Regions from separate parts of the Homo sapiens genome. Here regions 2, 3, 4, 5, 6 and 7 are each linked to region 1. The links are contacts of gene promoters, found by promoter capture Hi-C in human tissues and cell types (Jung and others, 2019). All regions are on one chromosome and are shown on one strand. Each heading gives the region's core, a stretch centred on a gene start or on the middle of the fragment in contact. The rest is flanking DNA. Distances are from core to core; before and after follow the strand shown. Region 1 holds the start of CREBBP (CREB binding lysine acetyltransferase). Region 2 holds the start of ZSCAN32 (zinc finger and SCAN domain containing 32). Region 3 holds the start of ZNF597 (zinc finger protein 597). Region 4 overlaps CLUAP1 (clusterin associated protein 1). Region 5 overlaps NLRC3 (NLR family CARD domain containing 3). Region 6 overlaps SLX4 (SLX4 structure-specific endonuclease subunit). Region 7 has its middle 48 kb from the start of ADCY9.

Region 1 (3,816 bases), core at 341-2,840:
TGAAGTTATACATGGAAATGAAACACACCACAGCAACTTTCATGACATCTTGCTAACGAAGTTTGGGTTTTGAAAAATGGAATGACTAGTTGACTAAAAACACACACGCGCGCACACACACACACACACACACACACACAAAACAAGGAGTTTTGAAAATAAGCACTAAGCATCTTTCCAAGGAACTCACTCATTCCAAGAAACTTCGGTTCTAACTCGCAAGCTGGCGGCTGCTGTGAGTGTCCTCTGAATGCAGCCTGGTCAATGTGTCGCCAATCCAGAAAACACACTGCCCTACCTTTGGCCGCGATCTTGCTTTCTCTAAGCATCAAAGGTACCCTCCGCTGTCATTCCTCTGGACGGCCACGCGTGTGGACACGGCCGCGGATGGATGCGTAGGACATTACCAAACAAACCCACACGCTGCACTTTACTTCTTCCCTCCTGGAGTGCCACTAGGGTCCCCGCGAGGAGGGCTGATCGGGTGCGGGGAGGCCGAGTGCACCGGGCGTGTGCTGACCAACTCGGGCCCAGTGACAGTCCTGCGACGAACTTCCACCCTCCCGCGCGGGGCGAGGGGAACGGGCTGCGGGGCCTGCTCCGAGCTCCCGGCTCGATCGGTATCCGCGACCACGACCCCCGGACGCTCTCTTTCAGGTGGGGGTGACAGCGCGCCCCGGGCCCCCGCCGCCCCGGACCCCCTCCTCACCTGTGCTGTCATTCGCCGAGAAACCGGGCGAGCTGAGTTTGGCTCTTTTGGGGTTGGGCGGTCCGTCCAGCAAGTTCTCAGCCATTTTCACCTGCTCGCGAAAACAGCCCCGGGCACGGGCGGCCGGGCCGGCGAGGGCCCGGACGGGGGTCGGGGGCCCTGCCGGCTGCGAGGGAGAGGAGCGAGCGCGGGCCGCGAGCGGGCGGGCGGGCGCCGAGGGAGAGGGAGGGCGCAGGCCGGGTGGGGGAGGCGGCGGCCAAATCTCAGCCACAGCAACAGCGCCCCGCAGCGCTCACCGCCCGCCCCCGGCCGCCGCCGCCGCCGCCGGCCGCGGCCCCCTCATCCCCTGCCCGCCTCCCGAGCGCGACACTCCGCGGTGGGGGCGCCCCGGCGGCCCGGCCGCCCCCCCGGGCCCGGCTGGCAGCGACGGCGCCCGGCCGGGCGGCTCAGGCAGTCCCCGAGAACATGGTGCCGCCGCCGCCGCCGCCTCGCTCCCCCCCCGCGCCCCACTTAATGAATTCGCTCGCGGCCCGACGACGAGGGGGCTCCGGGCTCCGCTCCCGGCCCGCGGCCCGCCGCCGCCGCCGCCGTGAGGAAAAACAATGCGCCGAGCGGGGTCGCCGCCGCCGCCGCGGCCCCCCCACCCCCCGTTCCGCCGCCGCCGCCGCCGCTGCCGCCGCCGCCGCCGCCGGGCTCCGGGAGGCCGAGCCGAGAGGCGAGCGGGGCCGCCGGGGCGGGCGCCGAGGGCCGGGCGGAGCGGGCCGGCCGGGCGGAGCGGGGTGCGCGGGCGGTTGTGGGGCCCGGGACCGGCGGGGCCGAGTAGATCGCGCTCGAAGCCCCGGTCGGGTCCGCGACAAGATGGCGGCTGTTGATTCCTCAATTAAAAAAAAAAGAAAGTTTTTTTTCTTCTCTTTCCAGAGCCTGAACGGGGAGGGGGTGGGGGCGGGGCACGCCGGTGCGTCACCCCCCCGCGGCGTCACCACGCACGGCCCCCGCCCCGCCCCCTCCACCTGCGCCGGCCGTGGCGGAAAGAGCCGAGCGTGCTCGGGCCGAAGGGCTGAAGGCGCGGCCGCCAAGCGTAGGGAAGCTGGCGGCCCGGCGCGGGCCAGGCCTGCGGGGCGCCTGGGCTCCGGGCTGAGCCACAGCTTTTGTTCTGATGGCGACCAGGCGTAGAGGGCCGGGGCTCCGGGCCCCAGCGGGCTCCGGGAGCGGCGGCCTGGCCGCGGGCTGGGCTCTCGGGCGCGGATTCGACGCCAGCCCGGGCCCGCCCGTCCCGCTGGGGCGGCGCTGCGTGTTCCCAGCTCCTCGCGTCCCCTTCCCCAGACCCTCCTAGGTGGCGTCGGTCGGGAACGGTCGGGGCGACCCCAGCCCAGGCCGCGCCACTAGCCTTCGCCGCCGGCCAGGGAAGTGGAATGGCCTCTGCAGGTTACAGACCGCCCTTGGGTCCTGCCGACGAGGTGGGCGGATGGGGAAACTGAGGCGGGGGGCGAGCAACTGCTCCAAAGTGGTCGAGGCAGGAAGTGGCAGGGCCGGGATTCGGGTCCCGCCCTACCTCGTGACACTAGGGAGTGAGGGGGCCTCACGCCTGTTCGCATCCCAAGGCGGCAGGGCAGACACCCTCACCTGTGAGAGCGGGGTGGCGAGGGCCGGCCTGGGCGGAGAAGGGCCCGCGCATCGGGGCTTAAGCCTGGACGCTCAGGCCGCACTCCCCGCCCCAGGCAACTTGCCTGGCGCCTCGCAGGTGCCCCAGACAGGGGTGCGGGCCTGGGGAGTCCCCCACGCGAGACCACAGCCCGCGGGACACTTCTACGAATACCCGAGGTGTTCCCATCCCAGTTAGTTATCTGCCCCTCCAAACTTGCCCGGCTTCCTCATAAAGGTATCAGCAGCTCCACTGTTTCCTAAGCCAGAAACCCGTGAGTCAGCGCGGACTCCTCCCTCTCACCCGCCACGCGCCCCTCTACCCACGGTCTTTACCTGGGAGACTGCTCCTCCCGCACTGTCCCGGTGGCTATGGTGGCAGCTACTCACTTAAGTGTTCTTTGCTCTCCACGTTGCTCCCCACGCAGCACCAGAGTTAACATCCCGAAAAGAGAGGGAGAAAATCTGTTTAAAACAACTCCCTGGCCAGGCGCGGTGGCAGATCACCTGAGGTCAGGAGTTCAAGACCAGCCTGGCCAACATGGTGAAACCCCATCTCTACCAAAAATACAAACATTAGCTGGGCGTGGCGGCGTGCGCCTGTAATCCCAGCTACTCGGGAGGCTGAGATGCGAGAATCACTTGAACTGGGGAGGCCAGTAAGCCGGGATCTCGCCATTGCACTCCATCCTGGGCGACAAGAGTGAAACTCCGTCTCAAAAACAAAACAAAACAAAACAAAATCCCAGACATAGAAAAAGAAAACACTACATAGTCTTTCTTTAAAAAAGAACACGTATGAATTCTCTTAAAAACATAGGTGTATGTACATATGGTGACTGTCCTTGAGTGTCAAGATTGAGTGATCGTTCTGCTTTTCTCTGTTTACCTGTACTGCTCAAAATCTTGGGCCGTGATACCGCTCTTGAATCTGTCTCTTCTACTTTACATGGCTCACTTCACCATCATCATCCTACACCCACTTGGCCAGTAGGCAGTTCACATCATTCAGGCTTTTTTTTTTTTTTTTTCAAATGCTGGTCCCTGTGCTGAGAAGACATGCCTGGCAAATTCTAACTCATCCTCCAGAACCCAGTTCAAATGTCACCTACTCCAGGAAGCCCTCCTAGCCCACTCCTCGGCTCCCATATCACTTCTGGGCTCTGTGAGAGAACACATAACACATCCTGCCCCATCTTCCCCGCCTCCACTGCCCCCGAATTAGTTCATGTTTTTACTTATGCATCAAATAGCTCTTGAGAATCCCAAGGGCATTGAGACTGTGCTAATCCCCTTGGCCAAACATAAAGAGATCCCCATATATTCAAGGAGTTAAAATAGCACACCCTGGAAGCCATAAATGGAAGTATTCAAGAAGTCAGTTTGCACAGGAATGGCAAGAAGTGTATCAGTGGCACAGGGCAGGCCACACCCTGTATCTGAATGCTCTGGGTGTCCGTCTCACC
Region 2 (3,816 bases), core at 594-3,093, 480 kb before region 1:
TGCAGTGAGCTGTGATCACGCCATTGCACTCCAGCCTGGGCAACAAGAGCGAGACTGTCTCAAAAAAAGAAAAAGTCCCTCTCATTGGTTCTGGTGGGGATATTAATTACAATACCCACTTCCCCAGAAGTGGGCATATGACACACAGCTAGGCCTATCAAAATTCTTTTCTCAGATTTTACATGAGAGGTAGGGAAAGCTCTTCATTTTCTAGGAATTGGTAAATTGGGCAAATGTAAGATCAGAGTTGTCTCCAACTATGTCCCACTCTCTACTCCACTCTTCCATCACAGGAGTGAGCCTGTTTACAAGAGGACAATATACTCAAGTCTTGACAACATGTTTGGATCTCCAAGGCCAGTTTATGTAAGGCAATATTTTTTTAAGAGTTAATTTTAAAAATAGTTTTATATAATTTAAAATTAATAAATAACTTTTAAAAATAATTTTATTTGTTTTTTTATCTTTAGAGATGGAGTCTCACTCTGTTGCCCAGGCTGGTCTCAAACTCCTGAACTCAAGCAATCCTCCCACCTCAACCTCCCAAAGTGTTAGGATTACAAGTATAAGCCACCATGCCCGACCTTAAAAATAATTTTAAATAGAAGCTAACTTTTGTATTTTTTGTAGAGGTGGAGTTTCACTATGTTGCCCAGGCTGGTCTCAAACTCCTGTGCTCAAGTGATCCTCCCACCTTGGCCTCCCAAAGTGCTGGGATTACAGGTGTGAGCCACTGCACCCGCGAAGGCAGTCTTTTTTAATGAGTTTGTGTTGGTTTTTATCTACTTAAAACACAGATTAAAGCAGATCGTAATTTACATTTTCTCCAGGGGCTGATACACCCTCACCATGTGGTATTAAAATGGATCCAGCATGCACAACAAGATGAATATACTCAGGACTACTGAGCTGTACACTTAAAAATGGTTATGATGGTAAATGTTTTTTAAAAATTAAAGAAATTTTTTTATATTTTAAAAATGGATTTGGGTTCCCTTTTCTCAAGGAACTTGAACTGCCTTCACTTAAATTCTCTTTACATTTCAGTGCTTCTAGAGATAGAGAAATCAAGGGCATTATTATTGTTAGCACTGCTTTCTAGCCAAAAAGAAACTGAGAGCGATGAAGTATCTTGCCTAAAGCATCACACAGCACAGCTCCTAGGCAGCAAGGCCAGGACTAGAACCAGCACCCCTTGCCTTCATTATGTTCATCCTGTGCCTTACCTGGCTGAAGAAGAATTTAATAAAAGCTCTTCTAACTTCATGCAGAAGGCGGAACCTGCACCCTTCTTGACCCCTTTTGACCCCTTACCTCCCACTCATCGTTAAATTTTAAAATGCTGTTCTCTGAAAATTTTACTTCACTCTAGCGATGGCCCAAACACTCGGAAAAAAATGTAGCATGAGGATGGGGAGCCAGGTTGATAGGTTTTTCACTTAGTTAACTATTTATTGAGTACTCAGAACGCACTCGGTGCCAGGGCTAGGCACTGTGGATGAGTAGGGAGTGGGCGAGACAGGGACGAGATGAGCAGGGTCAAGGCCAGGGGGTCCCGGGGCGCCGGCGCTCAGGCTCGGGGTGATCCGCACGGTGGGAGCGGGGCACGGTGATCGCGGCGCGTCTGGGGACGCCCGGCCTGAGGGAGGCTGCCTGTCCCAAGGAGACGCCCATCGGGGCCGGACCCGAACGCCTCGGAGAAGACTCCCAGCGGGGAGGGGCTCCTCGGCCGTCGCAGGGCCCAGCGGCTAATCCCGCCGGCCGCAAGGAAGCGGAGAACTCACCGGACACCAGCACTCGCGACTCCACAAACTCCCTCAGCCTCCGGGCCGGAAGTCAGCGGCGCGATTCGCTCCGCCCATTACGCACGCCCCTGCGCAGGCCCGCAAGCCGAATTGCCGGACTGCAGCTCCCGGGATGCACTGCGACGGTATTGACAGGCGCAGCAACCAATAGACGGTAGAGAATGCCCTTGGCAGGAGGCGGGCCCTGTCAGTAGTTGTCCTCAGCAGCTAGTGGGCGTCTCCGCAGCGAGTGGCATCGGCCCCGCCCCCAGCCCGTGCTCGCCGGTGTCGGGTCCTAAGTCCCTCGGTCTTGGGTTCCCGGAGAGGTGAGTCGGCTGCAGGTGGGTGCGGGGCGCCGGGCTGTTCGGGGTACCGGTGTCGCAGTCGCCAGTCCGAGCTCACACCGGGCGTGGAGTTCAGCTGCGCATCGGGTTGCGGCAGCTTCGCCAGGCCTGGGGCTGGCTGGGCCGCGGGGCCGCCCTGGAGGCCGGAGCCACTGGGCCTGCGGCGCCTCGGCAGCGAGCAGCCGCTTTGCTCGCGTGCAGGAGGCTGTTCGCTACCTCACACCCCCGGCTGGCGCTGTGGCCTCGCTTAGCTCTACCGTTTAGCACCCGGCGACATGCACCCGGTCGGTTTCCGCCAGGATGCGGGAGAGTTGGGGCAAGCTACCTGCGACAGCTTGAACTTTTCCTAGGGATTCCGCTCCACCCGCCGGTTAGAGCGTATTGCTCATTAAATCCGAGACCTGTGTGCTTGCTACTGAAATAAAAGAAGTATTTTTTCCCCAGAGTCCTTTTAGGACGTTATGACTTTTCTCCTTTGCAAGACTGCAAAAAACTGACAAGAAGACAAAACTCTTCCCACTCCCAGGGACCGCGTTGTCTTGAGTTTGGCTAGTAAAGGCTAGCAAGTGAGGCTTTGTCTCTGCATCCCGTTCCCCCTAACATCCTCAGAGAACCTTCGTTTCTAGAATCTTTCTAGTATTCAGAGACTTCTCCAGGGTCATGATCCCAAAGGCTTAACCCGTTTACAAGGAGAGAGTTGTCTCCTGACGCCCAAAATGGCAGCTAAAATGGAGATAACTTTAAGCTCCAACACTGAAGCTTCCTCCAAGCAAGAGAGACACATAATAGCCAAACTAGAAGAGAAACGGGGCCCTCCTCTGCAAAAAAACTGCCCAGATCCTGAGCTCTGCCGCCAGAGCTTCAGACGCTTTTGTTATCAAGAGGTGTCTGGACCCCAAGAGGCTCTCTCCCAGCTCCGACAGCTCTGCCGTCAGTGGTTGCAACCCGAGCTGCACACCAAGGAGCAGATTTTGGAGCTTCTGGTGATGGAGCAGTTCCTGACCATCCTGCCCCCGGAGATCCAGGCTCGGGTCAGGCATCGATGTCCAATGAGCAGCAAGGAGATTGTGACCCTCGTGGAAGATTTTCACAGAGCATCCAAGAAACCAAAGCAGTGGGTAAGGAGGGTCCTCTCCCATCATCCTGGGGATTTCTTTTTCTTTTCTTTTTTTTTTTTTTTCTTTTTTTGAGACGGAATCTTGCTCTTTCGCCCAGGCCCGAGTGCAGTGGCGCTATCTCGGCTCACTGCAAGCTCCGCCTCCCGGGTTCACGCCATTCTCCTGCCTCAGCCTCCCGAGTAGCTGGGACTACAGGCGCCCGCCACCGCGCCCGGCTAATTTTTTGTATTTTTAGTAGAGACAGGGTTTCACCGTGTTAGCCAGGATGGTCTCGATCTCCTGACCTCGTGATCCGCCCGCCTCGGCCTCCCAAAGTGCTGGGACTACAGGTGTGAGCCACCGTGCCCGGCCGATTTCTTTTTCATCTGGGTAATGTTTGGTATCTGGATCTCTCCCTATTTAAGTCTCAGAAGTGGACTGGATGGCTTCAGAAGTTGCTTCCAGCCTCTATCTGGGAACCTATCCTGAGTTATTAACAGGTTTTTAGAAAATCCAACTACTGATACCCAGTGAGGCAACAGAGGACCAAGGTTCTTACCATTCCTTTATGCACCTTGTGTCACCAGAAGT
Region 3 (3,816 bases), core at 341-2,840, 440 kb before region 1:
AGATTGCAGTGAGCCGAGATCGCGCCATTGCACTCCAGCCTAGGCGTCGCAGCGAGACTGTCTCAAAAAAAAAAAAAAAAAGAAAAGAAAAGGAGAAAGTTGGGCAGCCCAGGAAGAATCATAAAGAGATAAAGGTTACAGGATTCTCCCAACATCCTTCCCTTTGCTATTTCCTCTCGTCCCCATGACACTCATTGCTAAGCTCACTCCAGCACTTCATCCAGGCCTACCCCACCTTCTCTAACGGTGTGATAAATTAATCACTTGGGATTTATTATTACTCAACGAGTGTGGAGTCTAGAAATGTGCTTAATTTAAAAATTCATTCAAATTGGAGAAGTACCAAATCTGTAATTTTGGGAACCATTCCAGAAAGTCACTTTTAATCCTAGCACTTTGGGGAGCCGAGGTGGGAGGATAGCTGAAGGCCAGGAGTTCCTTGGCAAAGCAGCAAGACTCCATCTCCATAAAGAAGTTTTAGGCCGGGCGCAGTGGCTCACACCTGTAATTCCAGCACTTTGGGAGACCGAGGCGGGCGGATCACAAGGTCAGGAGATTGAGACCATCCTGGCTAACACGGTGAAACCCCGTCTCTACTAAAAATACAAAAAATTAGCAGGGCGTGGCGGCAGGCGCCTGTAGTCCCATCTACTCGGGAGGCTGAGGCAGGAGAATGGCATGAACCCGGGAGGCGGAGCTTGCAGTGAGCCGAGATCGCGCCACTGCACTCCAGCCTGGGCGACAGAGCGAGACTCTGTATCAAAAAAAAAAAAAAAAGAACTTTTAAAAGTAGCCAGACACTGTGGTATGCGCGCCTCTCAGATACTCGAGAGGCTGAGGCGTAAGGATTCCCTGAGTTCCAGACGGAGCTATGATATCAGCACTGCACTCCAGCCAGACAAGCAACACTCCAGCGACAAGGCCAGACCCTATCTCCAAACAAAACAAAACAAACAGATAAGACATTGAGAAACTCTCTCAGAGATTCCTCCACAGGTCCCTGCTCCCAGTTGGTAGTTCTGAAAGAAGGAAGTTGGTAAACCATTATGTGTGTGGTCTTGGAACGAAGAACACTTGGTCAAAGGGCTATTTGGGGCTCAGGAGCACTCCTACCACAACAGGCATGCCCAACTCTCCTCCAAAGGAGGGGGTCAGGCAGAGACCGAAAGCAGCAATAAACTTGGACGAAAAAGGTACCTCGACTCACCTGGGCCTCGGGCGTCGGGGGCATGGACGCCATTTGGCGGGTGGGGAATGCCTTCTTCAAGACGCCACAGGGACTTCGTGACAAAGCTGCGGGGGGAGAGAACAGTTCTTAAAGGGACCAATTCCGCTGCCAAGTTCCTCCACTACCCCTAGCCTCCCTCGATTCCCTCCGAACCCCCCCTTAAAAACCTACGCCGACTGCTCCTCCTCTTGGCCCGGCCTCGAAAGGGGCCCACTTACCGCTCCGCGGTTAATAACAGGCCTCGCGCTCCCTGACAGGAGCTGCAGAAAGCGACGCCCGACCGAGACGCGACGAAGAACGCCACGGCCACTGCAAAACTCCCACGCTCTCATGCTCCTTTACGCAGGAGCTGCGGGAAAAGCCGCCGGAAGCGACCCGCCCTCAGCCCTCTCCGCCATCCTGCCCTTTGATTGGTCGAAGTTCTCCCGAAGGGGAAGTCCTTCTTTTGTGTTGACCAATTGAACACCTTAACCGAGGACCTGTAGCCACTGGGCAGCTGCGAGAGGTAGTTTTCCTCCTTTTCTCTAAGCAACCATTTCCGCTTCCGCTGGCGGGGTCTCCTCCGTGAGCTCCGGGCCTGTTTGCCTGCTGAAGTAGAGTCTTAGGGTGACCCCAGGGGGACGTAATGTTTCCGAGAAGAAGGACAGAAAGAAGACTGGGAGACACCGGAACTCGAAAGAAAATCGGTAACAAAATGTGGGTTCGGCCAACAGTGCCCTGTAGGCCTGAAATTTCGGTCTGGCCAGAGCAAGGTGATTGAGAGGGCGGGGGTTCGGGCCTAGCCTGGGCTTGAGCTGTCCTTTGTGTCTTGAGCGGATGGTGGGGCCGTGGAACATGAAGGAGTATCTTTGTGTACGTTCACAACGTTCACATCGGTGTAGGCCAGGTTGCTGGACTCTGACTCAAAGTGTTATAGAGGCATTACGTATTGTACCCGCAGCTGCAGCCTAAGCGAGCTGCTTCAGCTTCCTAGTCACAGGATCCCACGCGAGAATAGAGCCATAGGTTAGCGTCGCAGGACGTTGTTCGCCCCCGGATACCTCACATGCAGCCTACCCTAGAGCCAGTCATTTCCTATTGTGTGCTGGGGGAGGAGGGAGTGCCCTGGTGTAGGCATTTGGAATTGGAAAATTGAGCTCCTCCCCAAGCTCTGCCACTGATTGGTTGGTAATCTTGGCCAGTTTACAACTTTGCTTTCCTCAGCTGCAAACAGCTCAGAGTGCCTCTCTGGGCTAACTCAGAGGGTAATTTCAAAGATTATAAGATAATGTAAGTGAAAGAAATTGCCAGTTTATAAAGGTGTTTGGGGAAAAAAAAAGACGAAAATGATAGGTACCTTGATAGAAAAGCCTGAAAAGTCTCAACATATTTCCTTATTCCAGTGCCAGGCACATTCCTGTATCTAAAAGCTTAATGAATGGCTGCATGGTTATTAAAACAATATTAGGAGATTTGACAACTTAGGTAATGTGATTTTGTGGAATATCTGATAGGATAGTTTCAGCTACAAGTAACAGAAAACCCACCGAAAGGATGTTCAAAGAGCAGTTACAGGTTGGTTAATTCGGTGGCCCAGTGACAACATCAAGGTCCCAGTGCTTCTCTGCCACCCTAAGCATGTTGGTAACGTTGACAATAGAATCCAGGTAAAATATACAGACATGTATTGTGTCATGTACCCATCCTAAACTAGTTATTACCAAGAATAAATAATTGTTTGGGGCCCATCATGCTTCAGCCCCTGTCACTAGGGGAAGGACCTAGCCTCCCTTGATAATCTACCTGCACAAAATTAGGGCTTTGTTACAAATGAAAAAAAGAGATGTGGAAAATAAGTTAGATAAGAAACTAGCAGTATCTGCCACAAATGATATCTCTTGACAGCTAACTAAGAGCTAGACCTTGTGGGGATGGATCACAAAAGAGGTAGCTGTGAAGTCCCAGTAAAGGTGCTTCCAGGACAGGTGGAAGAATGGTAAGAACAAACTTGCCTACAGGCTAGACCAGTCCAAAGCATATATGTTGAAGAAGAGCTAATAGCCTGTATATGAAGGTGTAAGTAAAGGAGATGTTCATGGTTGAGTCACTGTGGTGTTCACGTAGTCATCTTTCCCTTCTTGGTTTGTGCTTATCTCTTTTTTTTTTTTTTTTTTGAGACAGTCTCACTCTGTAGCCAGACTGGGGTGCAGTGGCACAATCCTGACTCACTGCAACCTCTGCCTCCGGGGTTCAAATGATTCTCCTGCCTAAGCCTCCTGAGTAGCTGGGACTACAGGTGCCCGCCACCACGTCCGGCTAATTTTTTTTTTTTGTATTTTTAGTAGAGATGGGGTTTCATCATGTTGGCCAGGATGGTCTCGATCTCGTGACCTCATGATCCACCTCGGCTTCCCAAAGTGCTGGGATTACAAGCGTGAGCCACCGCGCCCCGCCTATTTAATGCTATTCTTACATCAGCACTGTCTCATTGTGGTCTGAGATTCTCCTTATCTGGATTTGTGGCTCTTTCACCAAGAACAAGAGACTCCCGTGGCTCTCTTCTTTAAATCCTGTTGCCATAATTACAAAGAAATAAACACAGTTTCCAA
Region 4 (3,816 bases), core at 682-3,181, 350 kb before region 1:
TTACAGGCCCGTGCCACCACACCCAGCTAATTTTTGTATTTTTAGTAGAGACGGGGTTTCACCATGTTGGCCAGGCTGGTCTCGAACTCCCAACCTCAGGTGATCCACCCGCCTCGGCCTCCCAAAGTGCTGGGATTACAGGCCTGAGCCACCACTCCTGGCCTGCCCCCTACTTTTTAATGGCTATGTCATATTCCTAGCAGGACTGTACCCATGATTTACTGGGCGTTCTCGCATTGATATTTCCCCTCTTTTCCTTGTATATACATCTTTCTGCATGTCTGCATATCTTTAGGTTGCATCATTAAAAGTCAAATTCTTAGGTCAAAGGTTCCATAAATTTTTATTTTAATACTATAAAATTCTCCTATATTTGCCTTTAAAAACATTTCTTATCTACCACCTGTTAATGTTTGGAGCACAGTTGCTTTTTTTTTTTTTTTTTTTTTTTTTTTTGGAGACAGAATCTCATTCTGTCGTTCACGCTAGAGTGCAGTGGCACGATCTCAGCTCACTGCAACCTCTGCTTCCTGGTTTCAAGCGAGTCTCCTGCCTCAGCCTCCCGAGTAGCTGAGACTACAGGTGTGAACCACCATACCTGGCTAATGTTTAAAAAAATTTCTGTAGAAATGAGGTTTCATTATGTTGCCCAGGCTGGCCTCAAACTCCTGGCCTCCTGTCTCAGCCTCCCAAATTCCTGGGATTATACGCAAAAGCCAACATGCCTGGCCAGAAAACAAATCTTGAATGCTATTTCCTGCTTTATTTTCCAAGATTTTTATGACTTCTTCATGCTTTTGTTGTTCTCAGGAAGACCTGGCAAACGCATTGTGGGCACGATGCAAGGTGGAGACTCCGATGACAATGTAAGTCCCCCGCTCCCCTCAGTGGTTCTGTGCACTCTGGGTTTGGCTGTCCCCATAGATGGGAGTGGCTGAGTTGCTGTCAGCAGCCAGGGAGCCGTCTATGGTCAGCCCGGCCGTGCCTCGATGCGTGGCAGGGTTTGGCCTCATGAGGCTCTGGACTCTTCGTTGCTCGTGGATGGCTCATCTCTTTTCAAGTGAATGTGCTTGCTCTGCTTTTTTTGCCTTCTCACTGTTCTTTCCATTCTCGCTTTCCAAAGATGGAAGCAGCACCAGCTCTCTTAGGTAAATGCAAGACTTCCAGCTCCAAGAAGCAGGTTGGTTTTCTGTTCTGCCTCATGTGTTTGTGGGTGTCTGTCAGCCCTCCCGGGGCCAGCCAGGGGCCTCTCCCTAGGAGTGATGCTTCCTCTCTCCTGGGCAAAAAGGCCACTCAAAAGAGATCCTGTGGTGACAGCGGGATCACTGAAGGCCCCTGTGCTAAAGTGGAGGCGCAGGCACGGAGCCTGGAGGCGGGGAAAGCTCAGGCCGGGCCATCCTCAGGCCCTGGGCCGCCACCTAGAAATGAAGGAGGACGCCGAGGGCCGGGCTCAGGACCAACCCCCCTCCCTGTTCTGTGCTGGGGACGGAATGGTGAAGCAGCACTGTCCCCAGACCAGGCCCTCGAGGTGCCAGGCATGAGGCTGAGACATAAGCTGCCTTGAGCTTTACTGAGTGGATAACTCCCTGGAGCACTTAAGCAAAAGGGGATTCTAGGGGTCCTCAGTGAGGTCCAGTCATCAGGGCTCTGCCGCCCATTGCTCAAGCCTACGTTCTTTGTTGCGTCCCTGGCAGTGCTGCTCGGCCCACACAGCAAAGGGCGACTCAACAGAGACTGACCCCAGGCTGCCTCCATGTGCCCTGAATTTACAGGGCACAGTCTGTAGAGAAGCAGAGAGAGCAACTGGAAAATAATTTTCCTAACAAGCTCGGGTGTGGATGGTATACAGCGTCTCTCCGTCTTGCCCACCCAAGACAGAAGCAGAGGGAGTGTGGCGTGGGTGCTGGCAATGCTGAGGCAGCACCGCCTGCCTCTTCTCCAGGGTTTGCCTTCTCTCTCCTCAGAGCGAATGCATTAGTCGCAGCTGAGCTTTATGCCTGGTGGTCACTTGTTTATTTCAAGGAGGCTGTGTCCATGCCGCCCTCCAGGCACAGGGTTCCATGCTTTACGTGTTCAGGCATCCAACACGTGTCTGTTGAGTGCCTGCCACATGCCAGTGCTGTCGTGGATTATGGGGAACGCAGCAGGGGCAGAGGCAAGCCCCTGCTTCATGGCTCACACCCCAGCAATAATGATGGATTGTCGGATCAGGGCTCATGGTGTTAACAGGAGGAATAACAGCTTCAGGGGACAGGGAGTGACAGGGAACAAGGAGGGGGTGGCGTCTTCTGCGAGGTCAGTGAAGGCCCCTGACGTGGTGGTGTTTGAGCAGGGCCTGAGTGGAGGGAGCGAGCGCATGGGTTGGCGGCACCTGGGCATGTGGAATGCACTCCTCGCATCGAGGAGCAGAGGCAGCTGGTGTGATTGTGGGTGAGTGCGAGAGGCAGCAGGGGCCATGCAGAGCTTTGCAGGGTGAGATGAAGACTCTGTTTTCTCTGAGTGTGAGGGGAAGGCCCTGAAGAATCATGAGCCCAGAAGGGTCAAGAGCTGATGATCCCTGTTTGAGAGAAGCCAGTTAGGAGGCGCCTGCACCCGTGGAGGTCAGAGGTGACGGTGCTTGGCCGAAGGTGTGGCAGCAGAGGTGTTGAGAAATGGTCAGGTCCTGGGTCTCTCTAAGAACCATCAGGTTTTGTGAATTGATTGGACATAGGCTGTTAGAGAAAGAGAAAAATGAGGGTGCCTGGGCTTGGTCTAATCAGCAGAAAGCAGAGTTTCATTTTCTGAGATGGGGCCGACTTGACAAAGGGGCTTGGAAGGCAGATCGAAAGTTTGATTTTGGACATTCTGAATGTGACAGCCACATGCTAGGGTTGAGTAGCCAGGTGGAATTTAAGTCTGGAGTTCAAGGGCCACGTCTGGGCTAGAGATTGAATTTTGGGAGCCACCCTTATTTGGTTGGTATCTAAGCCACAAGGATAGATGTGACTGCCTAGGGAGAGCAAGTAGAATGAGAAGAGAGGCGACCCAAGGTCCTGAGCTGCATCTGCCCTGCAGAGGTCCGGGAGGAAGGGGCAGGCAGAGGAGGCTGAGGGGCGTCAGCAGTGAGGAAGGGGGACCTGGACTAGAGAAGGGGCCCTGGGGGATGGAGAAGATGGGTTTTAAGGATGAAGGGGTGATTCCACAGCTCAAGCAGGATGAGGCCTGAGAATCGATCCCAGTCCGTTGAATGTTTCCTTCTTGACAGGAGCAGTGCTGGGGTCAGTAGGTGAGAGCCCGGGGGAACTGAAGCAGTCGTGAGGGGCACAGGTGTGGACAGTGAGTTCAACGACTCGCTCAGGAGCTTTGTGTGAGGGGAGAGAGACAGGGCAGAGCAGCTGGAGAGGAAGGTGGGATTACCTTTGGGGTTTTTTTTCAAGAAGGAAATTACAGCATGAGTGTGCACCGACAGGAATGATCTAGATAGAACGACCAGCCATCCTGGTTTACATGGGACGCAGGAACTGCCGTTTTAAAGCTGGGCTGAGTTGGTCACCCTGGAGCCCTGGATCCGATGAGGAGAGAGAGGGTGTGTCTTTCACTTTGCTCCCTTTTTTTCTTTTTTTTCTTTTTTTTTTGAGATGGAGTCTTGCTTTGGAGTGCAGTGGTGCAATCTCGGCTCACTGCACCTCTGCCTCCCAGGTTCAAGCGATTCTTCTGCCTCAGTCTCCGGAGTAGCTGGGATTCACTTTGCTCCTTATACCAATGTCTATGTTGCTTTCCATCCACAATCTACAAAAAGCCAAAACAGGCCTCCCTTCCCTCTCTCCAAGCCCCTGT
Region 5 (3,816 bases), core at 401-2,900, 320 kb before region 1:
TGTGGTGGCACATGCCTGTAATCCCAGCTACTCGGGAGGCTGAGACAGGAGAAGTGCTTGAACCTGGAAGGCAGAGGTTGCAGTGAGCTAAGATCACGCCACTGCACTCCAGTCTGGGTGACAGAGTCAGACTCCGTCTCAAAAAAAAAAAAAAAAAAAGTTAAAATAAAATGGAAGGAAGCATTGACACATGGTACCACACGGATGAAGCTTAAAAACATCATGCTCAATGAGGAAAGCCGCACACCAAAGGCGAGCCTATATAAATCTATTTACATGAAATGTCCAGAATAGGTAAATCCTTAGAGATGGGAAGCAGATTGGTGATTGTGAGGGGCTGGGGAAAGGGGAGAATGGGAAGTGACTGTTTATGGGTATGAGGTCTCCTTCAGGGGTGATGAAAATATTCTGGAACTGGACAGATGTGATGGTGGCACAACATTGTGAATTTGCTCAATGCCACTGAACTGTACACTTTAAAACAGTCAGGGTTTTTTTTAGACAGAGTCTCGCTCTGTCGCCCAGGCTGGAGTGCAGTGGCGCGATCTTGGCTCACTGCAACCTCCGCCTCCCGGGCTCAACTCAACCTCAGCCTCCTGAGTAGCTAGGACCACAGGCACCTGTCACCATGCCTGGCTAACTTTTTGTACTTTTCTTTTCTTTTTTTTTTTTAGTAGATATGAGGTTTTACCATGTTGGCCAGGCTGGTCTCGAACTCCCGACCTCAAGTGATCCACCTGCCTTGGCCTCCCAAAGTGCTGGGATTACAGGCATCAGCCTCTGGGACCCGCCTAAAACAGTCAATTTTATGGTACATGAATTTCACCCTAATAAAAATAAATAAATAAATAAATAAATAAATAAATAAATAAATAAATAAATGAAAACAGAACAGAAAAGTGGTACCCACTCAGCTAAGTATAGATATAACCACAGGCTTTTAAAAGAGACATAACTGGCTGGGCTCGGTGACTCACACTTGTAATCCCAGCACTTTGGGAGGCCAAGGCAGGCAGATGGCTTGAGTGCAGGAGCTCGAGACCAGCCTGGTCAAAATGGTGAAAGCTCGTCTCTACTAAAAATACAAAAAAATTAGCCAGGCGTGGTGGCAGGAGCCTGTAATCCCAGCTACTTGGAAGGCTGAGGCAGGAGAATCGCTTAAACCCAGGAGGCAGAGGTTGCAGTGAGACAAGATCTCCAGCCTGGGTGACAAAGAAAGAATCCGTCTCAAAAAAAAAAAAAAAAAAAAAAAAAAAAAAAAAAAAGAGACGTAACAAACCACATCACAACTCTGTCCCCTGCTCAGGCCACACACACAGGCTCAAGTCTAGGGAAGAGCTGGACCCTGGAAACTTGCGTAGGGCATAAGATCCCCAGTACCCAATGGGATGGGAGCCAGTATCCCATGCCTGCCATCTTTGTTTGCTTGCTTGTTGAGAGAGTTTCACTCTGTCACCCAGGCTGGAGTGTAGTGGCGCGATCTCAACTTACTGCAACCTCTGCTTCCCAGACTCAAGCGATTCTCCTACCTTAGCCTCCCGAGTTGCTGGGATTACAGGCACCTGCCACCACGCCAGCTAATTTTTGTTTTTTAGTAGAGATGCCATTTCGCCATGTTGGCCAGGCTGCTCTCGAGCTCCTGACCTCAAGCGATCCACCTGTCTCAGCCTCCCAAAGGGTTGGGATTACAGATGTGAGCCACTGTGCCCGGCCCCATGCCTGCCATTGTGAATCACCTCCCATTCTCATAGGTGGTGCCTGAGGAGAGGGTTTTCTGGGCCCTCTCTTGGGGTCACAACACAGGGAGCAGGTGACACACACCTCAGGGAGGTCAGGGTGCGGTTGATCTTCAAAGCGTCTGCCAGCGCCTTGGCCCCTTGTGGTCCAATGGAGTTACCGCGGAGGCTGAAGGAAGAGAGAAAGAGACACCTCCTTCATCTGTCTCCCAGAGAGGGAAGGGGAAACAGAAACTGCATTGACCTTGAAATTCGTGATCCTCTAAGGGAATGTGTAAGGGCTTAGGATCTCATGTTTGGTGGAACCAGGGCAGAGATCCTTATATAAACAAGGAAGGAGTTTCCCCACGACTGTCTCAGGTGTTGGGGGAAAGAAAGCAGCACCTGATGGACTAGTGGGCTTGGGCCAAATGTGGAGATGAGAATGATGGCCCCAGATGCAGGGCAAACATCTGGTGTGTCCCTGGCTGTAGCCCGGCAACTGAGGAGCCATGGTTCAGCCCGGCTGTCCTTCTGCCCCACCAGGAAGGCATGTGCGCTAAGGTGTGGCCTCCCTGTGTCTTATTCCCACAGGAGTCTTAGAACCTGCTCCAAATGAAGTATGGATATTATGTCCAGATGCTACCCAGGGGCTGAATCATGGGAATCAGGGAAGAACAGACAGGTAAGACCCAAGTCATTTCCTAGGAGGGAGGGGACTTCACAAGATGCCTCACAACTCTTCTGGTTCCAATGGCAAAAGTTCGGCCTTGGTTGTCCTTACTTACTCCAGAGAGGTCAGACTTCTGTTGACCAAGAGGGATCTGGCCAGAGCTTTGGCCCCTTTGTTACTGATCTGGTTCTCCGCCAAGCTGCCCAAGGAAAGGGAGAGGAGTGGTTATTTTAGGCATGCACATCTCATGGCCTCTTCCTCAACGCTGTGCCCGTGATTAATCCTCTAGGCTCCCCCACATCATCAGGGTCTGGACATAGGTGGAGATGAGGTGACCCCTGGAGCAGAATGCCAGGCACAGCAGAGCCCCTGAGCCTGGGCAGCGTAGGGCCAGAGTGGGAGGACAGACCCTCATCATGGCAAAGGGTCTCAGGAAAAAGTTTAACCAGAATCCAGCACAACAGCTTCTACACAAACAGCACAGCAAAGAAAATGGAAATCTCGGAAGCCTAACATGCAGATGGCAGCCAGTGGTGTACTGGTAAACTGGCTCCCAGGAAAAACAAAATTTCAAAAACTGGGCTGTGCGTGGTGGCTCATGCCTATACAATCCCAGCACTTTGGGAGGCCAAGGCGGGAGCATCACTTGAAACCAGGCGTTTGAGACTAGCCTGGGAAACATAGGGAGATCTTGTCTCCACGAAAAACATAAAAATTAGTCAGGTGGCGCACCTGTAGTCCAAGCTACTTGGGAGGCTGAGGAGGGAGGATTTAGCCTAGAAGGTTGAGGCTGCAATGAGCCATGATGACATCACTGCGCTCCAGCCTGAGCGACAGAGTGAGACCATGTCTCAAAACAACAACAAAACAAAAAACAAATGCTAGCAAACTGATTTGTAGTATCTGCCACTTTCCATGGTATAAATACTCCCAGCAACACCAAGTTCAAGCACCTCCACCTTGCAAAATTCCTGAAAATTTAACAATCAGCTTTCGTGAACTGGTACAAACAAATTTAGGCACACTACTGATCCTAGCCTCTTTTCTAGTGCAAAATGGCAAATGGTAGAGTTATTTAAAATTAACTTTAAAATTAAAAAAAAACCACACACACACACACACACACACACATCTTGATTTGCCTCAAAAGCATGGTTCTGGGAATATGGTGGTGGATCAACTCAATGTTACTTCATGTATCCAGCTGCAGAAATAGTAGCTGTCCAGGCTCTTTGCCGTTTGTAGGCATTCAGCCCCATGGGATATAGTAGTTCAATTAGAATCCCCAGGCTGGTGCTCTTCTTTTTCTTTTTTCAGACAGGATCTCATTCTGTCACCCAGGCTGGAGTGCAGTGGCATGATCATGGCTCACTGTAACTCGAACTCTCGAGCTCAAGAATCCTCCCACTTCAGCCTCCCAAGTAACTG
Region 6 (3,816 bases), core at 655-3,154, 290 kb before region 1:
CTTTGGGAGGCCGAGGTGGGCGGATCACGAGGTCAGGAGATCGAGACCATCCTGGCTAACACGGTGAAACCCCGTCTCTATTAAAAATACAAAAAATTAGCTGGGCGTGGTGGCGGGCGCCTGTAGTCCCAGCTGCTTGGGAGGCTGAGGCAGGAGAATGGCGTGAACCTGGGAGGCGGAGCTTGCAGTGAGCCGAGATCACACCACTGCACTCCAGCCTGGGCGACAGAGCAAGACTCTGTCTCAAAAAAAAAAAAAAAAAAGGGCAAAGGATGTGAACAGACATTTCTCCAGAGAAGATCTACAAATGGCCAATAAGCACATGAAAAGGTGCCCGACATCATTAGTCATCAGGGAAATGCAAGTCAAAACCACAGTGAGATACCACTGCACGCCCACTAGGATGGCCATAACAAAAAACACAGAGGGTTTGGGCAAAATGGCAGAACCCTATCTCTACAAAAAAAAAAAAAAAAAAATACAAAAAAAGTTAGCAGGGTGTGGTGGCCCAAGTCACCAATGTGGGCAGCTGTTTGTGGCTGGTTCCAGCTACTCGGGAGGCTGAGGTGGGAGGATCACCTGAGCCAGGAAGGTTGAGGCTGCAGCAAGCCATGAACACGCCACTGCACTCCAGCCTGGGCGACAGAGCAAGACCTTGTCTCAAAACAATAACAACAACAACAAAAACAGAATAACAAGTGTTGGTGGAGATTTAAAATGGTGCAGTCACTTTGGAAAACAGTCTCGCAGTTCCTCACAATGCTAAACACAGTTGCCATATGACCCAGCAATTCCACTCCTAAGTACAGAACCAAGAAGAAGGAAAACATGTCTACACGAAAACTTGCACATCAATATTCCTAAGTGGCATTATTAATAACCACAAATTAAAAACAACCCGTGTGTCCACTAGTAGATGAATGGATAAGCAAAATGTGGCATACCATCAGTGGGGTATTAGACATACAAAGGAATGTATGCCCAAAGCCAGGGCAACATAGCAAGACCCAGTCTCTACTAAAAAAAAAAAATTAGCTGGGCATGGTGGCAGCTGCCTGTAGTCCCAGCTACTCAGGAGGTTGAGGTGGGAGGATCACTTGAGCCTGGGAGGTCGAGGCTACAATGAGCTGTAATTGCGCCACTGCACTTCAGCCTGGGTGACAGAGCAAGACCCCTGACTCAAAAACAGGCCAGGCACAGTGGCTCAGGCTTGTAATCCCAGCACTGTGGGAGACCAAAGTGGGTGGATCACTTGAGGTTAGGAGTTCGAGACCAGCTTGGCCAACATGGTGAAACCCCATCTGTACTAAAAATACAAAAAAATTAGCCGGGCATGGCATGGCGATGGGCGCTTGTAATCCCAGCTACTCGGGAGGCTGAGGCGGGAGAATCGCTTGGACCCAGGAGGTGGAGGTTGCAGTGAGCCGAGATCGTGCCACTGCACTCTAGCCTGGGCAACAGAGAGAGGCTCCGTCTCAAAAAAAAAAAAAAAGAATAAAAAGGAATAAAATACTGATCCATGCTACAACATGTATGAATCTTGAAAACTGTATGCTAACTGAAAGAAGCCAGACACAGACACAAAAGGCCACATATTAGTTATATATGGCTCTGTTTATATGAAATGTCCAGGACAGGCAAATCCATAGAGACAGAAAGGTTCTTGGTTGCCAGGGCTGGGGGAAGGGGAAGGTGAGAGACTGCTCATGGGTACAGGATTTTTGAGATGATGAAAATGTTCTAGAATTAGAGAGTGGGGACAATTGTACAACACTGTGAATGTACTGAGAAGCACTGAACTGTCCATTTTAAAAGGGTGGATATTATGGTATGTGAATTATATCTAAATAAAGCTGTTACTTTAAAAAATAATAGGCTGGGCGAGGTGGCTCACGCCTGTAATCCCAGCACTTTGGGAGGCCGAGGTGGGCGGATCACCTGAGGTCAGCAGCTCAAGACCAGCCTGATCAACATGGTGAAACCCGACTCTACTAAAAATACAAAAATTAGCTGGGCGTGGTGCTGGGTGCCTGTAATCCCAGCTACTCGGGAGGCTGAGGCAGGAGAATCCCTTGAACCCGAGAGGTGGAGGTTGCAGTGAGCCGAGATAGCCCCACTGCACTCCAGCCTGGTGACACATTGGAAACAGTCAGACTTTGGTTCTTCTGCCTTTTATGACCATGGAGCCCTTTGAGCCCCCGATGAAAGCGGCAGGCTCTGTCTCCTGAGAAAAGCACGATTCTTCCTGTGGCCGCAGCGTCGTCCTGAAGCCCACCTCAGATCTGCTGTGCAGCCTCCTGCAGCTGTTCTCACAGCACTGCCTGGGAACTGGTTAGAAATGCAAATTCTTAGTCACCCTCCCGAAGCAAGGCTCTGGGGCAGGCTGGGCCACGGGCGTGCTATAAGAAGCTCTCCAGGTGTTTCTGAAGCCCCTGAGGGCCGAGGACACTATCAGTGGCCTCATTCATCTGGATTTTGGGAGGAAATGGGCCCCCAGGCCGCAGGCAGGTGCTCACTCACAGCCTGGCCTTTCTCCCAGTCATGCTCAGCCCAGCCCGGCCTGTCCTTGCCCTCCCCGGAGGTGCCTGGATGGGAGCAGCAGCACCGAGGGGGCCGACACCTGGGGCTCTGACTCTCCCCGGGGACTGAAATGAGCAGGGAGGTGGCATCCCTGCACCTGGGAGGACCAGGAAGAACAGGCCTAACAGCCTCTCACACTTGTCCCACCTGATTCTTTTTTTAATTGAGGTGAAATTCACATAAAAAAATCGTAAAGGGAATAATTCAGTGGCATTAAGTATTCACAATGTTGTACAACCATCACCTCTATCTATTTGCAAAACATTTTCACCACCCCAAAAGGACACCCTGTATCCCATAAGCAGTCACTCCCCATTCCCCCTCCCTCCAACCCAGGCCAACCACTAACCTGCATTTTCTCTGGATTTGCCTATTCTAGACATTTCATATCCATGAGTGCAGACAGTACATGACCTTCTATGTCTGGCTTCTCTCACCCGGCAGCATGTTTTCTGGGTCGTCCACGCGGTAGCGTGTGGCAGTGCCTCACTCCTCTTTGTGGCTGAACACTATTCCATTTTCTAGTGGTCTAGATGGACCACGTTTGGTTTCCCTGTTCATCTCCTGACGGGCATTTGGGTTGCTTCCAGCTTTTGGCGATTGTGAACAGCGCTTCTATGAACATGCATGTCTGAGTCCCTGTTTTTAATTCTTTTGGATATACAGGTAAAAGTGGAATTGCTGGGTCCTGCAGTCAATCTACGGTTAACATTCTGGAGAACCACCCTGGTCCAATCTTAAGGCATGCCGATACTTGCTGAATGAGTTGTGGCCTTTGGAGGTGCCGGCTCCGTGTTCTGGAGAAGGGTCCACAGATGTGGATTTTTAACACATGCCCAGGTGAGCACTGGAGCCAGGCAAGTTTGGGAAACACTGACTTACTGGCTGAGAAGTGTAGCATGAGAACCAGCCCGGCTCTCCTCCACTGTGGAGGGGAGTCTGGAAGGCAGCGGAAGTGTCATGCCTCAGGTCAGCAGGCATTCAGAGGGCAGCCCCTGGGTCTCATGACTGATCTTCCCACCCTCTTAGTGTAAAATAGTAACAAAGACAGTCCCCTTCCCCAGCTCTCCTGGCTACTCACTGGGTGTCTCTAACCCTTCGGGCTTCTGAGCTCCACCAGCGCTTGGCATCTGGGCCGGAGGAGGGGTCTCTGGAGGCCTCTGCTCTTCCCCGTCCCAAACGTCCCACAGAGCCGAATTCAGAAAGCTCGGCCTGCTATTCCCCAGGGAGCCCGCG
Region 7 (3,816 bases), core at 889-3,388, 280 kb after region 1:
TGCTGGGATTACAGGCGTGAGCCACCACGCCTGGCCAAAAAGTAAAGAAATTCTGTGGCCAGGCGTGGGGGCTCATGCCTGCAATCCCAGCACTTTGGGAGGCCAAGGCAGGCGGATCACTTGAGCTTAGGAGTTCAAGACCAGCATCCTGGGCAACAAAGTGAGACCTTGTCTCTAGAAAAAATACAAAAATTAACTGGGCACGGTGGTGCACACCTGTAGTCCCAGCTACTCAAGAGGCTGAGGTAGGAGGATGGCTTGAGCCTGAGGGACAGAGGTTCCAGTGAGCCAAGATCACACCACTGCACTCCATCCTGGGCGAAAGAGCCAGACCCTGTCTCAAAAAATAACCAAAAAAGAAACAAACAGGCTGGGCACCGTAGCTCACGCCTGTAATCCCAGCACTTTGGGAGGCCGAGGCGGGTGGATTACCCGAGGTCAGGAGTTTGAGACCAGCCTGATCAACATGGTGAAACCCTGTCTCTCCTAAAAATACAAAAATTAGCCGGGCGTGGTGGCGCATGCCGGTAGTCCCAGCTATTCGGGAGGCTGAGGCAGAAGAATCGCTTGAACCCAGGGGGCAGAGGTTGCAGTGAGCCGAGATTGCGCCATTGCACTCCAGCCAGGACACTAAGAGCAAAACTCCGTCTCAAAACAAACAAACAAACAAAAAGCAAGGAAATTCTAGCTGGGTATGGTGGTGCACACCTGTAGTCCCAGCTACTGGGATGGCTGAGGTAGGAGAATAGCTTAAGGCCAGGAGTTCAAGGCCAGCCTGGGCAACACAACACATGCTACAACGTGCATGAACCTTGAGGACATTATCTTAAATGAAATAAGACAATGCTGTATGATTCCATTTGTATGACTCTAGTTACCTAGAAGAGTCAGATTCCTAGAGACTGAAAGTAGGATGGTGATTGCCAAAGAGGAGGATGGGGAGTTATTGTTAATTTTATTTTATTTTTGAGACAGGGTCTCACTTTATCACCCAGGCTGGAGTGAAGTGGTACAATCACATCTCATTGCAGCCTCAGCCTCCTGGGTCCAAGCGATCCTCCCACCTCAGCCTCCCAAGTAGCTCAGACTATAGGCATGTGCCACCACACTTGGCTAATTATAGACTTTTTGTAGAGACGAGGTCTCACTATGTTACCCAAGCTGATCTTGAACTCCTGAGCTCAAGGGATCCTCCTGCCTCAACCTCCCAGCTGTGCAGCACGCGGCTGAGTTATGGTTTAATGGGTAGAGAGTTTCAGTTTTACAAGATGAAAAGAGTTCTGAAGACAGATTGGTGATGGTTACACATCAATGTGAATGTTGTTACTACCATTTAGCTATACACTTTAAAATGCTTGAGTTAGTAAATTTTTTTGTTTTTTTGGTTTTTCTTTTTTGTTTTTGTGAGACAGAGTCTTACTCTGTCACCCAGGCTGGAGTACAGTGGCACAATCTCGGCTCACTGCAACCTCTGCCTCCCAGGTTCAAGCGATTCCTCTGCCTTAGCCTCCTGAGTAGCTGGGCCTACAGGCGTGCACCACCACACCCAGCCGAGTTAGTAAGTTTTATGTCATGTGTACTTTATTATAATTTAAAACAAAAAACCTGGCTGGGTGTGGTGGCTCACACCTGTAATCTCAGCACTTTGGGAGGCTGAGGTGGGTGGATCACCTGAGGTCAGGAGTTCGAGACCAGCCTGGCCAATATGACAAAACCCCGTCTCTACTAAAAATACAAAATTAGCTGGGCATGGTGGTTCATGCCTGTAATCCTAGCTACTCAGGAGGCTGAAGCAGGAGAATTGCCTGAACCCGGGAGGCAGAGGTTGCAGGTAGCCGAGATTGCACCACTGCACTCCAGCCTGGGCAACAGAACGAAACTCTGTTTCAAAAATAAAATAAAATAAAACAAAAAATCTCATGACCCACATCAAAAGGTGTAGGCAAGGGGTGCCTTTCTTATGACACATAAAACGCCCACTTTTTTTCCTTTTAAAAATACAAATATAACTTTTTATTAAACAGCTAAACATAGACAACATTAGCAAAATGCTTTTTAAAGAAATATTATTCACAGAATATGCTTTAAAAAAATTAACATTCAAGCACAATTTGATCTTTTCTCATTAACTCTTCACTAATATCAAACAGGCGTAATCATTTTTGTAAGACTATTTTCTGAATGCTTAAGCGCAAAGAAGAATGCCAAGTACATAAATGTGCATTAATTCATCTACTCTTCCTGACACCAGGAAGTAGATTTTAATATGATACTTATCCCATTTCTCAGAATTAGAACTGAGAGTTAGAGATATTAAAGAACTTGCCCAAAGCCACAAACCCGGTGTCAGAGTTGAGACCCAATCTAGTCTTCTGACTCCAGAATCGATGCTGTCTTATTAAAAGACGACGGTTCTCAAGGAACATGAAAACAGCCATTCTCTCATCAGTTAGGGGCCTGTTTAAACAAATCCACCCCAAAAAGCTTTTTCTTAGCATTCTCTACTAATAGCTTGCAAACTGTCTTCCAAAAATAATTTTTAAGTCTGCATCCTTTACAACAACAACAACAAAAAACCTTCAAACAATTCAGTGTAAGGACCTTTTTTTAGTAGAATGTGGTTTTGGAGCAGAAGCAGACGATGAGTTCTTGGCCAAATCTTACATCTTTTAAGGCCTCTTCTATAAAATCGGACAACTCAGAAGTGATAAGGACCAGAAACACGCCAGGTCCATGTTTTTTACATGGCCCTTCCAGACATAGATCCCGCCTCCGCCACCATCTCTACAGAGTCGTCTAGTTCCTTCTGAGATAGAAAGGTCATCCCAACAGCAATGATTCTGGTTTAGCAGGGGGGATATTTGAAGCAGGTCCCTTTGGAGGAAGTGGGCCCCTCCTACAAGCCAAGCTTTCAACAGCCGGAGTTTGTGTTTTGCGACTCCAAACTGATCACCGTTGACTGTACTAACGTTGGTTCTCCAGGACACATTTGGAAATGAGACAAACAGATCCTCACTGAGTCTTCGCTGGTCTCCTGATCTATTTTTTTTTTTTTTTTTTTTTTGAGATGGTCTTGCTCCATCACCCAGGCTGGAGTGCATTGGCACAATCACTGCTCACTGCAGCCTCTGACTTCCCAGGCTCAAGCAATCCTCCCACCTCAGCCTCTCGAGTAGCTGGAACTACAGGCATGTGCCACCATGCTTAGCTAAATTTTTTGTATTTTTTGTAGAGGTGGGGTCTCACTATGTTGCCCAGGCTGGTCTCAAATTCCTGGGCTCAAATGATCCTCCCACCACGGCCTCCCAAAGTGCTTGGATGAGCCATGAGCCACCACACCCGGCCTTGGCTGTTCTCTTGAATGAAGGGGATTACAAACTGGGGGTCTCAGGCTGGCCCTTTCTTGCCTTCTGGGTGGTCTGGAAGCAGGGACAGCCACTCTGCACAGAGTGCACGTCGCAGCAAGCACACTGAGGGGATGCCTGGCTTCTTGATGGCTTTCCTCTTCCTACTTAAAGTCCCTTCCTGAGACACAGTTGTATTCCCGGCCTTAGATCTCATATGTCCCTGAATCTTTTAAATAAATTATTCTCTTTGGCTTAAACTACTTCCAGATCATTGGGGTACATGTCATAAGAGAATCCTAACTGATACACTATTAAATTCATTTCTTCATGACTTGTATGACCACTGAAGTTAATTTGTCCTATTGTAGTCCAGATTCAAAGAAGAGGAAAGAATCTCCAGACAAGTGTGGCCCACCAGCATGAAGAGGAAAGCTCTCCAAGCCATGAGGACCAAAAATGAGCCCCATCC

What was found. Contacts are between HindIII fragments. The study calls those that stand out against the background at their distance.
Region 2: the fragment with the promoter of ZSCAN32 here is called in contact with the fragment with the promoter of CREBBP in region 1 in 1 of the 25 tissues and cell types used here (thymus).
Region 3: a contact is called between the fragment with the promoter of ZNF597 here and the fragment with the promoter of CREBBP in region 1, in 1 of the 25 tissues and cell types used here (heart right ventricle).
Region 4: a contact is called between a fragment that was not itself captured here and the fragment with the promoter of CREBBP in region 1, in 1 of the 25 tissues and cell types used here (dorsolateral prefrontal cortex).
Region 5: a fragment that was not itself captured here is called in contact with the fragment with the promoter of CREBBP in region 1 in 1 of the 25 tissues and cell types used here (lymphoblastoid cells).
Region 6: a contact is called between a fragment that was not itself captured here and the fragment with the promoter of CREBBP in region 1, in 1 of the 25 tissues and cell types used here (lymphoblastoid cells).
Region 7: a fragment that was not itself captured here is called in contact with the fragment with the promoter of CREBBP in region 1 in 2 of the 25 tissues and cell types used here (IMR-90 fibroblasts and aorta).

The regions. Positions count from the first base shown.
Region 1 is chr16:3,879,123-3,882,938 of GRCh38, forward strand. It overlaps CREBBP (CREB binding lysine acetyltransferase), which reads right to left and starts at 1,591. Exons shown (of 31, transcript NM_004380.3): 1 at 710-1,591. The coding sequence starts at 794. RefSeq lists silencers at 580-629, 710-759, 800-1,109, 1,447-1,496, 1,517-2,066 and an enhancer at 1,270-1,846. The HindIII fragment of the contact is 21,091 bases long and covers 1-3,816 here.
Region 2 is chr16:3,399,161-3,402,976 of GRCh38, forward strand. It overlaps ZSCAN32 (zinc finger and SCAN domain containing 32), which reads right to left and starts at 1,844. Exons shown (of 7, transcript NM_001284527.2): 1 at 1,785-1,844. ZNF174 (zinc finger protein 174) reads left to right here and starts at 2,055. Exons shown (of 3, transcript NM_003450.3): 1 at 2,055-3,246. The coding sequence starts at 2,845. It overlaps LOC105371059 (a long non-coding RNA gene), which reads left to right. Exons shown (of 4, transcript XR_007064949.1): 3 at 1-366; 4 at 471-509. RefSeq lists silencers at 1,482-1,631, 2,182-2,401 and an enhancer at 1,605-2,104. The HindIII fragment of the contact is 10,964 bases long and covers 1-3,816 here.
Region 3 is chr16:3,441,914-3,445,729 of GRCh38, forward strand. ZNF597 (zinc finger protein 597) reads right to left here and starts at 1,591. Exons shown (of 4, transcript NM_152457.3): 1 at 1,447-1,591; 2 at 1,208-1,293. The coding sequence starts at 1,240. It overlaps NAA60 (N-alpha-acetyltransferase 60, NatF catalytic subunit), which reads left to right and starts at 1,767. Exons shown (of 8, transcript NM_001083601.3): 1 at 1,767-1,924. RefSeq lists an enhancer at 1,851-2,000. The HindIII fragment of the contact is 11,416 bases long and covers 1-3,300 here.
Region 4 is chr16:3,531,976-3,535,791 of GRCh38, forward strand. CLUAP1 (clusterin associated protein 1) reads left to right here. Exons shown (of 12, transcript NM_015041.3): 11 at 811-866. Among named protein-coding and RNA genes, the nearest start is that of CLUAP1, 33 kb to the left of the region's middle. The HindIII fragment of the contact is 7,388 bases long and covers 1-3,816 here.
Region 5 is chr16:3,555,090-3,558,905 of GRCh38, forward strand. NLRC3 (NLR family CARD domain containing 3) reads right to left here. Exons shown (of 20, transcript NM_178844.4): 7 at 2,504-2,587; 8 at 1,822-1,905. It overlaps LOC101929732 (a long non-coding RNA gene), which reads left to right. Exons shown (of 4, transcript XR_007064953.1): 3 at 2,310-2,400. Among named protein-coding and RNA genes, the nearest start is that of NLRC3, 20 kb to the right of the region's middle. The HindIII fragment of the contact is 4,749 bases long and covers 1-3,816 here.
Region 6 is chr16:3,585,341-3,589,156 of GRCh38, forward strand. SLX4 (SLX4 structure-specific endonuclease subunit) reads right to left here. Exons shown (of 15, transcript NM_032444.4): 12 at 3,662-3,816. Among named protein-coding and RNA genes, the nearest start is that of NLRC3, 9.8 kb to the left of the region's middle. RefSeq lists an enhancer at 2,068-2,137. The HindIII fragment of the contact is 6,051 bases long and covers 1-3,816 here.
Region 7 is chr16:4,162,049-4,165,864 of GRCh38, forward strand. No RefSeq gene overlaps it. Among named protein-coding and RNA genes, the nearest start is that of ADCY9, 48 kb to the left of the region's middle. The HindIII fragment of the contact is 3,036 bases long and covers 621-3,656 here.